Regions from separate parts of the Homo sapiens genome. Here region 2 is linked to region 1. The links are contacts of gene promoters, found by promoter capture Hi-C in blood cells and fetal thymus (Javierre and others, 2016). All regions are on one chromosome and are shown on one strand. The core of a region is centred on a gene start or on the middle of the fragment in contact, and the rest is flanking DNA. Distances in the headings are between cores, read along the strand shown.

What was found. Contacts are between HindIII fragments. The CHiCAGO score rates a contact against its expected background, and 5 or more counts as called.
Region 2: a fragment that was not itself captured here is called in contact with the fragment with the promoter of ITGB8 in region 1 in 1 of 17 cell types (total B cells); the score reaches 5.6 in total B cells.

Annotation. Positions count from the first base shown.
Region 1 is chr7:20,325,251-20,332,149 of GRCh38, reverse strand. It overlaps ITGB8 (integrin subunit beta 8), which reads right to left and starts at 1,250. Exons shown (of 14, transcript NM_002214.3): 1 at 217-1,250. The coding sequence starts at 343. ITGB8-AS1 (ITGB8 antisense RNA 1) reads left to right here and starts at 388. Exons shown (of 3, transcript NR_110120.1): 1 at 388-500; 2 at 2,637-2,783; 3 at 3,294-3,849. RefSeq lists silencers at 290-529, 1,000-1,389 and enhancers at 1,470-1,759, 1,860-1,929, 2,017-2,629. The HindIII fragment of the contact is 8,395 bases long and covers 1-4,459 here.
Region 2 is chr7:19,727,616-19,734,514 of GRCh38, reverse strand. It overlaps TMEM196 (transmembrane protein 196), which reads left to right. Exons shown (of 5, transcript NM_001363562.2): 2 at 5,077-5,133. The region is part of intron 1 of LOC107986774 (a long non-coding RNA gene); the gene reads right to left. Among named protein-coding and RNA genes, the nearest start is that of POLR1F, 22 kb to the right of the region's middle. The HindIII fragment of the contact is 2,448 bases long and covers 3,031-5,478 here.

The DNA.
Region 1 (6,899 bases), core at 1-2,500:
TCTGATAATTAGTCCTTGCTGTCGCTCCAGGGCAGAAATGCTTGACACCTGGCCTCTAGGCCATCTGTGCTGGAGGACGCTGCCCCGCACCCGCCCCCTTGAAGTTCTCTGATGACCGCAACTTACCTGGCCGGGATGCTCTGGCCGGGCAGCTCTTCGTGCCAGCCCAAGACCTTTGGGGAAGAGAAGAAAACAAAACAAAACAAAACAACTTACCACCTTGGCCCAGTCCAAGAACAAGTGAAAACACCCAGGCTGCCCAGAGGAACGAGGCGGGACCTCGCCGGTCGTTTTGCAGGCAGACAAATGCAGCGGTAAAAAAAGCCAGGGCCGAGCCGCACATAATGCAAAACAGCCCGCCCCGCGCCCGCCGCCTGACTGCCTTCCGGACGCGGGCTCGCGCCTCCCGGGCGCACCTCGGGGCCCGCGGGCCGAGTGTCGCTAGGACGTTTTCCGCAGGCCTAGCAGGCGGACCCCGCGGCTCGGAGCAAGCGGTGCAGGTAAGCGGGCCCGGGCACCGCTCGGCATCTCAGGGCCCCTGCGGCCCTCCCGGCTCGGCACGGCGGGTCCCGCGGTCTCCGCGAGAAGCACCTCCTTCGACGGCCAAGGGCCCCGGCGGCGACTGGAGAGAGGGCTCTGCAAGGGCTCCGCAGCCTGCTCCGGGACAAAGAAAAGAGCTTTTGTTTCTCTCCAGCCGGTGGGGCTTCTGCTGCATAAATCAGCTTAGCGAAGAGCCAAACACAATCAAACCCAAACAAAGCCCGAAGCTGGGGGGGAAACCACCCTAATGTACATTCACTGGGTGATGCTGGATCTGTGGGAGGGGACGCCGGCGAGGTCGAGGGGAAAAAAGTCTGTGGCGCATCAATCAGCGCAGTTGCTTCCACAGGTGGGCAGGGAGGCCAACACCATTAGTTGCAGCTTTGCAGCCCCGTCTGCGGAGCAGCGGGCAAAGACAAGTCGGCAGCGTCCTGGCTGGCAAGGGAGGAAGCTCGGGATGCCAGCAACAGGGGGAGGCGGCTCTGGGAGCGCCCTAGAAGCACCCGCCGACACCCGCAGGCACAGAGCGAGGCATCGCCGCTCCCTCCCTGGCGGGGAGTGGGGCCTGCGGCTGCGAGCGCAGGAGGGGAGGTTCCGCGAGGTGCCGGAGCCCGGCTTCGCGGGGCGGGGGCTGCGTGCCCTTGTCCTTTTCGCCTCAGTGCGCGGCTCAGGCGTCCCGCAGTCCAGAGCCCGAGTTGCTGGCGCGCTCTGGGGTGCACACGGCTAGGATGCGAGAGAGGCGAGGCCGGCGATGGGCGGGAGAGGGGTGGTCCTGCTCTGGCCCCCCGGGGGGCTCCAGACCTGCGGGTAGCCGGGTGCACTCAGGGCAGAGAGTTGCTAGGAAACCTCCCCACGCTACCGGAGCGCCTCGCCTCGGCTGCCCGCAGGCGCGGCTGCAGCCCGGGCAGGAGCAGCAGTAACAGCTCGGAGCAGCGTGGGCGGGACATTGGTGAGGCATGAAGTCACCGCGGCCCACACTCGCTCTTTGTTTTGCTCACTCCAGCTCTTTCTTTTCCCCCTTGGCTCTGATAGTTGCCATTCCCATCGTTCACAAGAACTCCTGAAGCGTAGCCGCGCAACAGGAATGGCACGCCTCGTTCCCTTCTCCCTCCTCCCCCGAATCCTTGCACCCCAACGCTCGCGGGGGTGGTGGGAGACTCGCTCAGCGCCAGCGGCAGCTGCGAGCAAACCCCAATCTCTCACCCCCGCGCTGCTCGCCGCTTTGTTCGGAGATACTCACTGCCCCGCAGCTGCTGCATACAAAGTGGAGTCAAGGGACCTCCCCTGCCCCCAACGCCCTCTACTCAGCACTTTGCTTGCAGTTAGGAGCTCGTCCTCTACCCCACCACAAGGCTGCCCCGGTGTCCCTAGCCTTTGGAGAGTTGGACCAGTCTGCAGGGGCTGTTCCCGGAGCGACTGGCCGAGATTTCTCGCTGCTCCTTCTCTGCTCAAAACCTTAACCCTGGACTGGACAGCCCTGTTTTTCCCCAGCGTCTGGTGGTGGCTCTGGGCTTTTGCAAGTTACAGTGGGTCTTTTGATCTTAAGCGTCACCTTCCCAGTAAACGGAACAAAAAGTTACAGACAGCAGCAAAGCGGGGAGAGGGGAGCTAAGGAGAGAAAGTGGAAGGCACTTCTGCCTGCTTGCAGCTCAGAAATTTAGGTGCAAGTAGGGTGCGGGTGTTATGCTGGGCAACTGCCCGGAAGCAGCGCGCCTCCTCGGGTCCTGTCATTACCACGCTAAGTCGAGGGAGGGAACTCAGTCCCCCGCATTGGAAACAAGGCAGTGTTTCCAGTTTAACACGGTGATGGTTCTCTTTTCCCTCTAGGGGCAGGAGCGATTCCCATTCGAGGAGTTTGACCTCTCATTTTAATACAACACCCGCCTCTTAGAGGCAGCAGACCAGTCCAGCCAGGTCAAGGTGAAATATGCGGGAGTTTCCCCCCTTCTTATTTAATAGTTTCCGTCTCCTTATTTGTAGTTAAAAAAAAAAAAAAAAAAAAAGTAGGAGGCGCGGTCTCTCTCTTTCTTTCTGTTGACTGAGTGAATGGAAAGTACCTGGTTAATAAACCACAACATCGAAACTCCCCCTTTCAGGTGTGGACCGCACAACGGGGTGCACAGGATTAGTTAAGCAAAGCAGGAACCCAGCTGGAAAATTAAACGAGCCCTGGATCTGCAAAGCAGGTCCCTTCGCGAGACCAAAGCCGTGATCCCAACCTTAGCAACATAATTCTACTGGAGGTGATGTACTCTAAATAAATAGAAATAAATCCAGCTCCGCTTTAATATTTATTTCCTTTCCTTAGTTCCAAGTTTGAACAGTTATAGTTTTGTTTTTTGGTTGTCTTAAAGGAAAGGCCTAAAAATTAGTTAGGATGGGTGTGAGGACTTGAAAATTTGAACACAAAAATATCATATTCAATATCTGATTAGTGACTCTTCCATTGGGCAGCCTGGGTATTTTCCAGGGGTTATGTCACAGACCTACTGAATGCAGCCACCCTTGAGACATGCAGTGCTTCAATCAAAAAAAAAAAAAATTAAATCCCTAATTCCCATAAGGACATGTCAATACACTTTAAAGTGTCTATCATATCACCATTCCATAATATTCTAAAATACAACTCTTTGTTGCTGGGTTGTAAGTGGCAGTTACAGTAATAAATAAAATATAAATGTATGCAAACAAGAAAGGATGTAACTTTATGAAATTGATGAGGTATGCACTAATTTTTGTAACTCTGTTTTTAGGTGTTGATATATATACTAATCCAGAACAACCATGTAGCAAGAGGAATAAAATGAAGTTCAGAAGTCTGTTTCGGGAAATTTTGAAGCCCTTTAGAAAGAAAGATTTCTACATTTTGTTACATGAAATTCATGCAAATATATGTCAGGTGCCAGTGCTATGGAGTTGTTGAAGAATAAGCACAATACCATTTATTACCACTTCTCAGTTGTAAAGAGGCTGTAACTCTGGTTGTCGAAATAAAATAAAATGAAATCTCCTAGATGTGACACTGTGACCCCTGCCAGTTATTTACAAACAAGTTATCTGCACATTTTGGGCTGTAAACATAAAAGTAAACTCTCTGAAAGACTGCAAATCATCTTTAGGGTTTTCTTAAAGTAAATACAACTAGTGGCCCAGGAACCAAAAGTTTGCTTGTTTCCAGTTAATGTCACTGGTCACCATAACTCACCCTTTTTCCTATGAGGAAATGTACAGCATATTTTAAAGAAATGCAGTATTGTTATCTTCGTCATATTACCTGAAGAATTCTAATAAAGGAAAAATGTTTCGGAAGATGGTGACTTGATTAATTTGTTTTTCCATCATGTTCTGCTATATTGCTTTGAAATTTCTGACAGCTAATTTTTCATCATTTGTGGTAATGAGAGGAAATGAAATTCACAGATAGTCTAAAAATAACATTTTAGTTATTCATTCCAGGCTTCCTATCATTAGAGTCTTTGAGCTGAGTTACTAAAAAGTCATAAAATTAAATTACTTAAATTTCTTCCCTACTCCTTTAACCTTGATTTCTCACTAAGTGAGTTTATGGTGAGAATGAATAAGCTATAGATAGGTAGCAGGAGTGAGGGAGACACTCAGACTGTTTTTTAAGAAATGGAATCTTGCTATCTCACTATGTTGCCCAAACTGGCCTTGAACTCCTGGTTCAAGTTTGAACTCAAGCTATCCTCCCACCTCAGCCTTCTGTGTAGCTGGGATTATAGGTGTAAGACACCACATACAGCTGTGGCTATTCACACTTTAACTAGATGTGCCCAAATTATTGATCTCATAGTGGCACCTACAGACACATTTGAATTTTAATGTTACATCTTTTTGAAGTTGGGATCAGAGCCATTCAGTACGTTTTGGGTGGGTATTCACAAGTTATCTATAAGCTTGCCTGAGACATCTCAGAAGATGATTAATGGTCAGACCAGTGAGATATATTATTGTGACTATGACCTCTAGCTTCTTCTAATGATAAAGTACATAAATTGCTTGAAGGTATTTTTCACTGAATTGTTACATAAGACAGTGTTTCTCATACTGTAGACTGAAGACTGCATACAACACAATCCCCCATAGAGTAATTCTGAGTTCTAATTCCTTGTCTCTATTCCAGGAGATTCTGAATTAGTAGATCTTGTATGGTGCTCAGCAATCTGCATTATACCAAGGTCCTCAAATGGTTTTTATATGCTCTGAAGTTTAAGAACTTCCTACTTTAATGGGTTAATACAGAGACTCCTTAAAGGCCTCATGAGTGTTTAATAACAGAGATCAGTGTCAGGTGCAAATTCAAAGAAAAATGAACTGCTGGAGCCAGTGTCTCTTGCCAAGATAGTTTATGGATGACTCAATCTGTGAGATATTAATGTTTTCTGAAACAAGACTTCCATGATTAAGCTTGGGAAATGCTGAATTAAAGTCAAATTAAATCCCTTACTAGAGGAATTTCCGGAAACTCAATAGAGCAGCATGCCATTAGATTCTCCAAAGGAAGAAACCTGTATGAGAGAACATCTCACAGATTAATTTTCCTCGAAGCATGCTACAGAGCTAGCCCCATTTTACAAATGTGGAAACTGAGACAAAGACTGGCAAAGAAACCAACCTCACTTTTTCAAGGGAATTCATGAGCAGGCAGAAATCAGAGCTCTGATTCTCCTCAATTATCTCATATTGTGATGACTTCTAGTTTCAAGTAAAGAGTCAGATTATGGCTGTTCTAAGTAAAAAAGGAAACTATTGGCTGGGTGTGGTGGCTCACACCTGTAATCCCAGCACTTTGGGAGGCCAAGGCAGGAGAATCACCTGAGGTCAGGAGTTCGAGACCAGCCTGGCCAACATGGCAAAACCCGTCTCTACTAAAAATGTAAAATTAGCCTGGCATGGTGGCACACACATGTAGCCCCAGCTATGTGAGAGGCTGAGGCATGAGAATTGCTTAAACCCTGGAGGTGGAGGTTGCGATGAGCTGAAATTACATCACTGTACTCCAGCCTGGGTAACAGAATGACACACAGTCTCAAAAAAAAAAAAAAAAAGGAAATTCTTGAAAGAAAATTGGGAGCCCACAGAATCACAGAATCAGCAGGAAGCTGGGAGACTACGACTAACCAAGGCCAGAAAACACGGAGGCATAAGCAGTAGCAGGAAGTGTCTAACTCTTAAGAACAACTTTGAATCCTCCCTTTGCTTTGGATCACTTGCTCAAGATTCAAAATCCTTGTTGGGAATATCTAGTTTTCAGAATTTTCATCATATGTTAGTACACTGGCTTTCTGGGTGTGGGAAAAGGAGAGAAGGGGCTCTCATCTTCAGCTTTCTTGGTAGAAAATATGGGTACTTTTGAATGAAACATTTTATCCGTGCATAGTCTAATCCTGTGCACAGACCCTGTGCATAGTGTTATCCTTTTATAGCATGCAGTAAAATAATACTTGTTTAGTCTTTAACTCATCGTCAGAAAGATGATGTCCCTGGCTCACCACTTCATCACATACAACTGGAAGTCTGTGTGCTAGAAGTGCTAGGGAATGAACAACATTCCTGGGTGCTGTCTTAACTGTGCACCAACCAGATGGGAAGTGAGGTATAAATACCCCAGCTCCCCTGTTTCTTGTATGAAGTCACTTTAGGCCTTGTGTTCTACACTATTTTTGAGCTAGTTTTTAATTTTCAATCTATCATGGATTGATACTTAAATAACATAAAGTAAAAATGAATTATTGGAAAAATGGGTATCACTAAAATGTCAAATTGCTATAAAAGTTTCTTAGTACTTTTAATTTTTATACATTCTTTGTCCTGGGCCAGTCTCAAACAGTAGAAGGACTGGTACTGCCACACGTTACATTTTGAGTAATATTTAGCACCATTTTCCAAAGTTCCCCTGTAGGAGTAAGCTATACTTGGTCACAGTGATAATTGCATTCAAATAGATCCTTCGTTGGTTGTCTTTCCTTCCTTCATTTCCCTGTGACCCCCAATATTTCCTGGTGTCAGGGTCCTCTTCTGGAGAAAACTACATTAAGACAAGCAATAAATGTGACTGGAAACTAACCGCTGGTGTCCTGCCTGTATGAATTTAAATTCTTTTCTTGTCTGGCTATAAGACAACCACAGTGCAAAAAAGCACATGGGCTTTAGAGTCTTATGAAGTAAATTTGAATCTGCTACCCACTAGCTATAGAATCATAGGTAACTTATTTAATTTTCTGCAGCCTCAACTCATTTATGTAATGACTATATTAAAACAACTATCAAAATTACCAATTAAAATGAAGTATCACTACACTCCTATTAGAACAGCCAAAATCCCAAACACTGGTAAT
Region 2 (6,899 bases), core at 3,005-5,504, 600 kb after region 1:
GTGATTACATTTAAGGCATCCCTGGATAATCTGCAATAATCTCCCCATCTCAAGAAACTTAATTCAATCACATTGGCAAAGCCTTTTTTACCCTATAATATTCATGGGTTATGGGGGTTAGAAGATGGACATATTTGGAGGGCCATAATTCAGTCTACCACCATGCCCTTGGCCAAGTGAACATGTCGTTCTTATAATCTCTTGCTTAAGTAAGAGTTTGGCTGGATATACATTGAAAAGTTTGAAAGTCATTTTTTTTCAGTATTTTGTATTTTATCTTAATATCTACTTTTAGGCTGTTAGTGTGAGAAGTGGAGTCAGTCTGGTGTCAGGAACTAAATGTTGTTTGGCTGTGATTATCTGTGGTGCAAAATAGTCTTCACATTCCTCTAGTGGTGGGCTGTAGTTGCCTTGTGCTTATGTGCTGGAAATTTTTTTTGATGTGAGTGCCCCACCTTCAGCTTGAGCCCCTGTTCATCTTCATCACAGGGTTGGGGTGGAGGGTATCCTCCCATGCTGTTGTCTCCCCCTCATTGGTAGACTGCTGTCAGTTGTTACTCCCAACTGCTAACTCATGGTGAGTGAAGGTGGGGCTGAAGGAGAAAGTGTTTTGTTGTTGTCAACCAGTTTCAGTTTAGGAAGTCCTTGTGCGCCTGATCTCAGGTGTGGGGCTTTCTCAGTATTCTGTACCTTCCTTCCTGAGACAATTAAACTTAGCCTTATATCTGGGGTTGATCTTGGGCGAGAGGCTCCTGCCTCTTCTCCAATGGTCAATGTCCTCTACTTCGTATAGGCATAGGATGCCAGGCCCAAGATGAATTCCTGCCTCTCCCTCTGTATTTTTTTTTTTTTTTAAAAAAGGATCTTCTACTTTTCCTCCAGTTAGAGTGGCAATCTATATTTGAATAGGCCCTGGAAATGAGAAGCTTTGCTACCCTTCTGCCAGAAGCCTAAGCCTTTTGCTTCATAAAAAAGAAGGTCTAGGGAAGGAGCAGGGCTTTACACCTCCCTCAACACAAACAAATGTGTGATGACCAGTGTCTCTTCCTCCCTTACTCTGCAACAGGTGACATAGTGTCAGACCTTTCTTGGAGAAGATTTCCCTCTTTGAATTGAAGTTATCTCATTGTCTTGGAATCTCAACCAGCTCTCTGATGGGCTCTAAAATATCATTTCCTTACTGTAAGAGTGGAAATGACATCTTTGCATCTTTCTGTGTCCTAAGCAAAAGCAGAAACCTCCAAGGACTTTACATAAAGAAAATCCACTCAAAGTGTAAAATACTGTCTTCATAATCATGTCATTTCGTCCAACACGTCACAATCTTAGTTTTCTATTGAATATAATCTAAATTGGAATCAAATGAAGTTCGCTTGGAGGATGAACTAATTTTATTTTATTGTGTAGCACTAGATGCCTTATCATTAGATTGCTACATTTATATCATTTCACAGTAAGATCAACGCAAATAATCCTCCCTGGATTTAAACATCCCATCTTCTCACAAATAAAATCATATTTTCTCATGGTTCAGGCTTTACACATATGCACATACATACAGCTATCAGCTTTACTTTTTTAGCTAATTTGTTTTTTACTTGCTTAATAATTGCCATGATGTGGGTAAGTGCTTTGCATCCTGGATAAAGTTATGTTGAACAAAAGAAAGTGTATTTTGAAATATTATAACAAATTCCTTTATAAAATAAGATGCATTTAATTTTAGAATGTAACACAATTGACTGATGTTCTTATTATTTTGATTACATCAGAAGTTATATCATAAATTAACAATGGTCTTGCAGTTGTAGGTGAGTAGGTATTCATTGAACACTTCTAGTTGGATTTGCTAGTATAACCTACACTGAACTAACACACACAAAAAAAAAAAACTCTAAAAATCACTTCCATTCCGTTTTTTTTTTTTTTGTTTTTTTTTTTTGAGATGGAGTCTTGATCTGTCACCCAGGCTGGAGTGCAGTGATGCGATCTCGGCTCACTGCAAGCTCCGCCTCCTGGGTTCAAGTGATTCTGCTGCCTCCCCCTCCAGAGTAGCTGCGACTACAGGTGACTGCAACCACGCCCGGCTAATTTTTGTATTTTTAGTAGAGACGGAGTTTCACCATATTGGCCAGGCTGGTCTCAAACTCCTGACCTTGTGATCCGCCCACCTCAGCCTCCCAACATGCTGGGGTTACAGGTGTGAGCCACCATGCCCAGCCCATTATTAAAAACAAATTAATTTAGACACTTAATAAAGTCTTAAATTAGATGTGTGATTTCTGACCTTGATGTGTTACCTTGAGCAAGTCACTAACTCTCTGGACCTCTCTGGACCATGTCCCCACGTGTAAACTTCGAGGGATTAATTAAATCATCTTTTAAGATCTCTTCCAGTATTATGACTTGTGGTAAATAAAGATAGCCAATGAAATAAAATATCAATTTACTACTTTGGGGGCCTCTTTTTCTCTTTTCTATAAACTGTGGTGGCTAAATTTCAACCAAGATCTTTTAGATCCTCCTCATAAATCCCATGATTTCATATACTTCCTGTTACATGTGTCCACTTTTTCTCAGGTTACAGCTTTTCTCTAGGACATGTGATTTTGGATACTCTAACAGAAGTAACAGTTGGAGAGTATTTACATTCATCTGCTGAAAGTAGAAAAAATATTGATTGATTCCTCCCCTACTCTCCCTTCCCTCTCCCAATCCTTGAATTCACATTTCTTAGCTCCATCCAATTGAAGTGAGATAATACAAAATAGCAAATTTATTGCCACCTAGATGTTCTAACCAAATGGTTGGATGGAGAACTCTGCTTATGCTCCTGACCACCTCTTGGGCTTTACTGTAAATGAATAATGGCAGTGTTTACAGATTTCAAAACAGATGCAAGGAACACAAAACTACACTGCTTTCAAATTCTTTTCGAATGAGTTCTGGATAAATGGGACTTTCAGGATGAAAATGGGGTAGTCAGGGAAACTTAAGGAGAAGAGTATGCTTGAGCTTTGATCTGAAGCTTGAAGCACTGAAAGGTACAGAATTGGTCCAAACTGGAATTTCTTGAGCACTGCCTTCAAAAATGTGAGATGAAATTAGTAACAGAAAGAGTCCATAAGAGGACATGATCATCTACACTTAGGACACAGTGGGTGGTGAGAAACGGTCACTCTGAAATAGCTTTTTAAGGCTACTGAAAATTATGCAAGTATTCAGGTTTTATAAAGTTCTGAGTTTCTATCTTCTCATGGTTTTATAATACTAAAAATATTTTATTAGATCTATTTCTAAAGTATGTTAACTATTTGGCTATCATATACTTTCCGAATATAATCCCAACATTTTTTGCCTTTGAGTGTTATGTTTTTGACCGTCAAAATTAAATTTTTTCTATTAATAAATACTTTCTACTTTGGTTTATTACTTTGGTGCTACATTTAGAAAATCCTTTCCAGTCCTCTAAAATTATATAAATATTTAACTTTGTTGTCTCCCAATGCATTTAAGCATTTTTGTATAAATACTCAATTTTACATTAATTTTGGTGTATGTTAGGGAACGTTAACACATTATTCTAGCTCTATTTATTGGGCAAATAATCCTTTCCTTTCCATTAATATGAAAGGTCATCTAAATTATATACCAAATTCTTATATATTCTGTGTTCCCTATTTCTTCTTGCTGCCCCACTGCCTGCATAATAATCATTCTGCTCCCTTATAGGAAAAGTTTCTTTGCAACAACTTCCCTTACTTATTGCTTTTTAACAGATTTTCTTGGTACTTCTCACATGCATATTATCTCAGATAATCCTTAGTATATTTTGATATGTATTTGGAAATAAATCTATCCAGGTGTCAAATATTTAGTGAAACAAGCTATATTGTTAGTTCTGACTTCAGATAATTAAACAACAACGACAACAGTGAAAACTAGTTCTCTTTGCGAATAAAAATTTTCTTTACAAATCTGAAGTCCTTTAGTGGACTTCTTACTTCTTAATGAATATTTTATATAGCTATTTCAAGTTAGAAGTATGTGAAAACTTGCATTCAAATGGAACTGTTTCTATTCAAATTAAACTATTTATCATTTTATGATTACTAAAATATCTAATAGTCTCTCCTTGGTAGATAATCTGATGTGACTGCCTTTGCAAAGCAATTATGTCAACAATGTTTTATTTACAAGAAATAATATGCTATCAATTGCTTTATCCCTTTGTGTTCTTTTTTTTTTTTTTCTTTTTTGAGACGGAGTCTTGCTCCGTCACCCAGGCTGGAATGCAGTGGCGCGATCTTGGCTCACTGCAAGCCTCGCCTCCCAGGTTCACGCCATTCTCCTGCCTCAGCCTCCGGAATAGCTGGGATCATAGGCGCCTGCCACCACGCCCGGCTAATTTTTTGTATTTTTAGTAGAGACGGGGTTTCACCGTGTTAGCCAGGATGGTCTCGATCTCCTGACCTTGTGATCCGTCCACCATGACCTCCCAAAGTACTGGGATTACAGGTGTGAGCCACCGCGCCCAGCCTATCTCTTTGTGTTCTTCTGACATATCCATAAGGCCAGTTTCTTGTAGAATAAGGAGGTTGTCATTGTACCAATTGGAGTGGTACAAAGAGTATCTCTATAGAGAATCATCTCCTTGTCTGATGCATTATCTTTTGATTTGTGCAGATTCTTTCCTGTAGTATAACTTACTGATTTCTAGTTGTTAAGTGTGAATGAATGTATCACACCACTTTTCTCCCTGAGAAAGTAGAAAGGAATCAGACGGTGAAAAGAAATGGGAGAAACAAAGCTCTAAATTCATTTACTTAATAATTTTACCTGATGCTAAAACTGATTCAATTACCTCTAACAATCTAGCAAAAAATAAATTTTTATTAGGGTTTATACTTTTATCCTTTACTATTCTAGAATGAGATCTTATCCTCTCCAGGTTTTGAAGGAAATTTAAAATGTTCTATCTTCCCTGGAGAAAGTGTCATGAGTGAACTACAAGCTAAAATCTAGGGGTCCTCGTGTCTTTGGATAAGGAGTAATTGTTCTTCTTTTCCTTTTCAGTTTCTTCTTTGTGGCATTTGTGGAATATTGTGTGCCAAAAAAAAATCAGGACTTGTCGTAAGTGTTTGATTTGTTTGTATTGTGCATTGAGGTGTATGAAACGTAAAATTCTAAAATAGAAATGATGGCTAGCCAGCTTTCATATACTGAATATTGCTAGTTTGAGGCAAAAAAAAAAAAAACTGACAAATAAATCCTGCCTTTTCTGTTTTCAAAGAAAACCATCAAAATTATTAGAAACTATGACAAAAGCCCACCGATGTAAAAAAACTTTAATAAACTCTTTAAATATCTGAATATGCAACCTTTAATGACTGCTACGGATGACAGTCTCTAGTTTTCCAATCTGGAGACTGCCAGACAATCGCCTGAATCCTTCAGTAAGCTCAAGTAGATAAAGCTTCAGCCCATGAGAAATGTAACCATTTAAATATGGAACTGGGCCTAAGGATTATTGGCTTTCTTTGACTGTGAAGCAAGTTTTGCGAAGCAGCAAGACAGCTGTGTTGCTATGGTTACAGTTTAATTCTCAGAGATTTATTTTATTTTCTTTTATTACTGTGAATGCACACATAAGTGTTTTCAGATGTTTTATGGTACTATAGTGGGTTTCTGGGGTATGGAACACACTCCCAGTTAGCTCTGATATTGGCTGGATGAGCCACACTGCATGCTGAAGTGTGGATTCCCCATCGCCTTTCATGATTTTTCATAAGGGTTTGGAAATAAGGAAAAAGTGTGGTTTATTTTACCAAGTATTATGGGAAAGAACATAGACACAAATTGGCAAAATTAATACTACACAGGGACCCTAGGAAGTACCCTTTGAGCCTAAAGAGAGTTTTCCAAGGTGAGGCCAGTTATCTGAGCAGATCAGGGAATGGGAAGCATTGCAGTTATTTTTATTTGACCCCTTTTTCTAATCACATCTTTCTTCGTGAGAACATCTATTATGGCAAAAAGGCTAAAGCCCTCACTGCTTTAGACAGCAATTTTAGATGTAATTTTTAAAAATTACATAAAGGGAAAAATGAAACCTTTAGAAAAAAATGTATTTTTTCAGGCTTGTAACTTGCATTTATGATTCTCCCATCATTTTTTACACATGGTCTTCATTCTCCTTATGCCCTTCCTCTACGAAGACTCTTTATGACTATGTAGGAACAACTCCTTGGGAGAAAGCAAGTAAACAAGCAAGGAAGCATGACAAAAGGAAAGAGAAAGAGAAAAAAGAGAGAGAGAAAGAAAGAGGAGGGAGGGAAGGAAAAAATAAAAAAGGAAGGAAGAGGCTTTTTGTTGTTGTTGTTTTATACAAAGGCAATAGTGGCACTTCTCTGTCTTTCTCTTATAAATTACAAGGAAAAAAATGATGAAATCTGATTTTTTTAAGAAACTACCGCCCAGGTGGTAGCTGTACCTACTATTAGAAGGTACATTATCCTGTGTACTTTCTAAGGTCCCCATTGATGGCATTTAACTATCAATATTTTCTACATTTTAATGAAATTAAAAAAAAATTTCACTCCAAATATATCTGCAGTCTAGAGTCTCCAACCTGGTGAAATTTGAAAATAGTATATGGTTACAGATTTAAACATTTTAATTCCTGGATAAGATTGTTTTGTTAACACATGTTAATGAGGTGTCATGCCTTTAAAGAATTAATCAGAATGACATCAGCAAAGACATGGGCTTTCCTGTAACAGAAAACTAAAGGTATTGTCTGCTTTCTCTATAACAATAATTAATTATTTGAAGCTAGATTTTAATATCTTTCCGTATTTTCAGAGAATGAGTAAACACCAAAATATATCCCCAAAGAA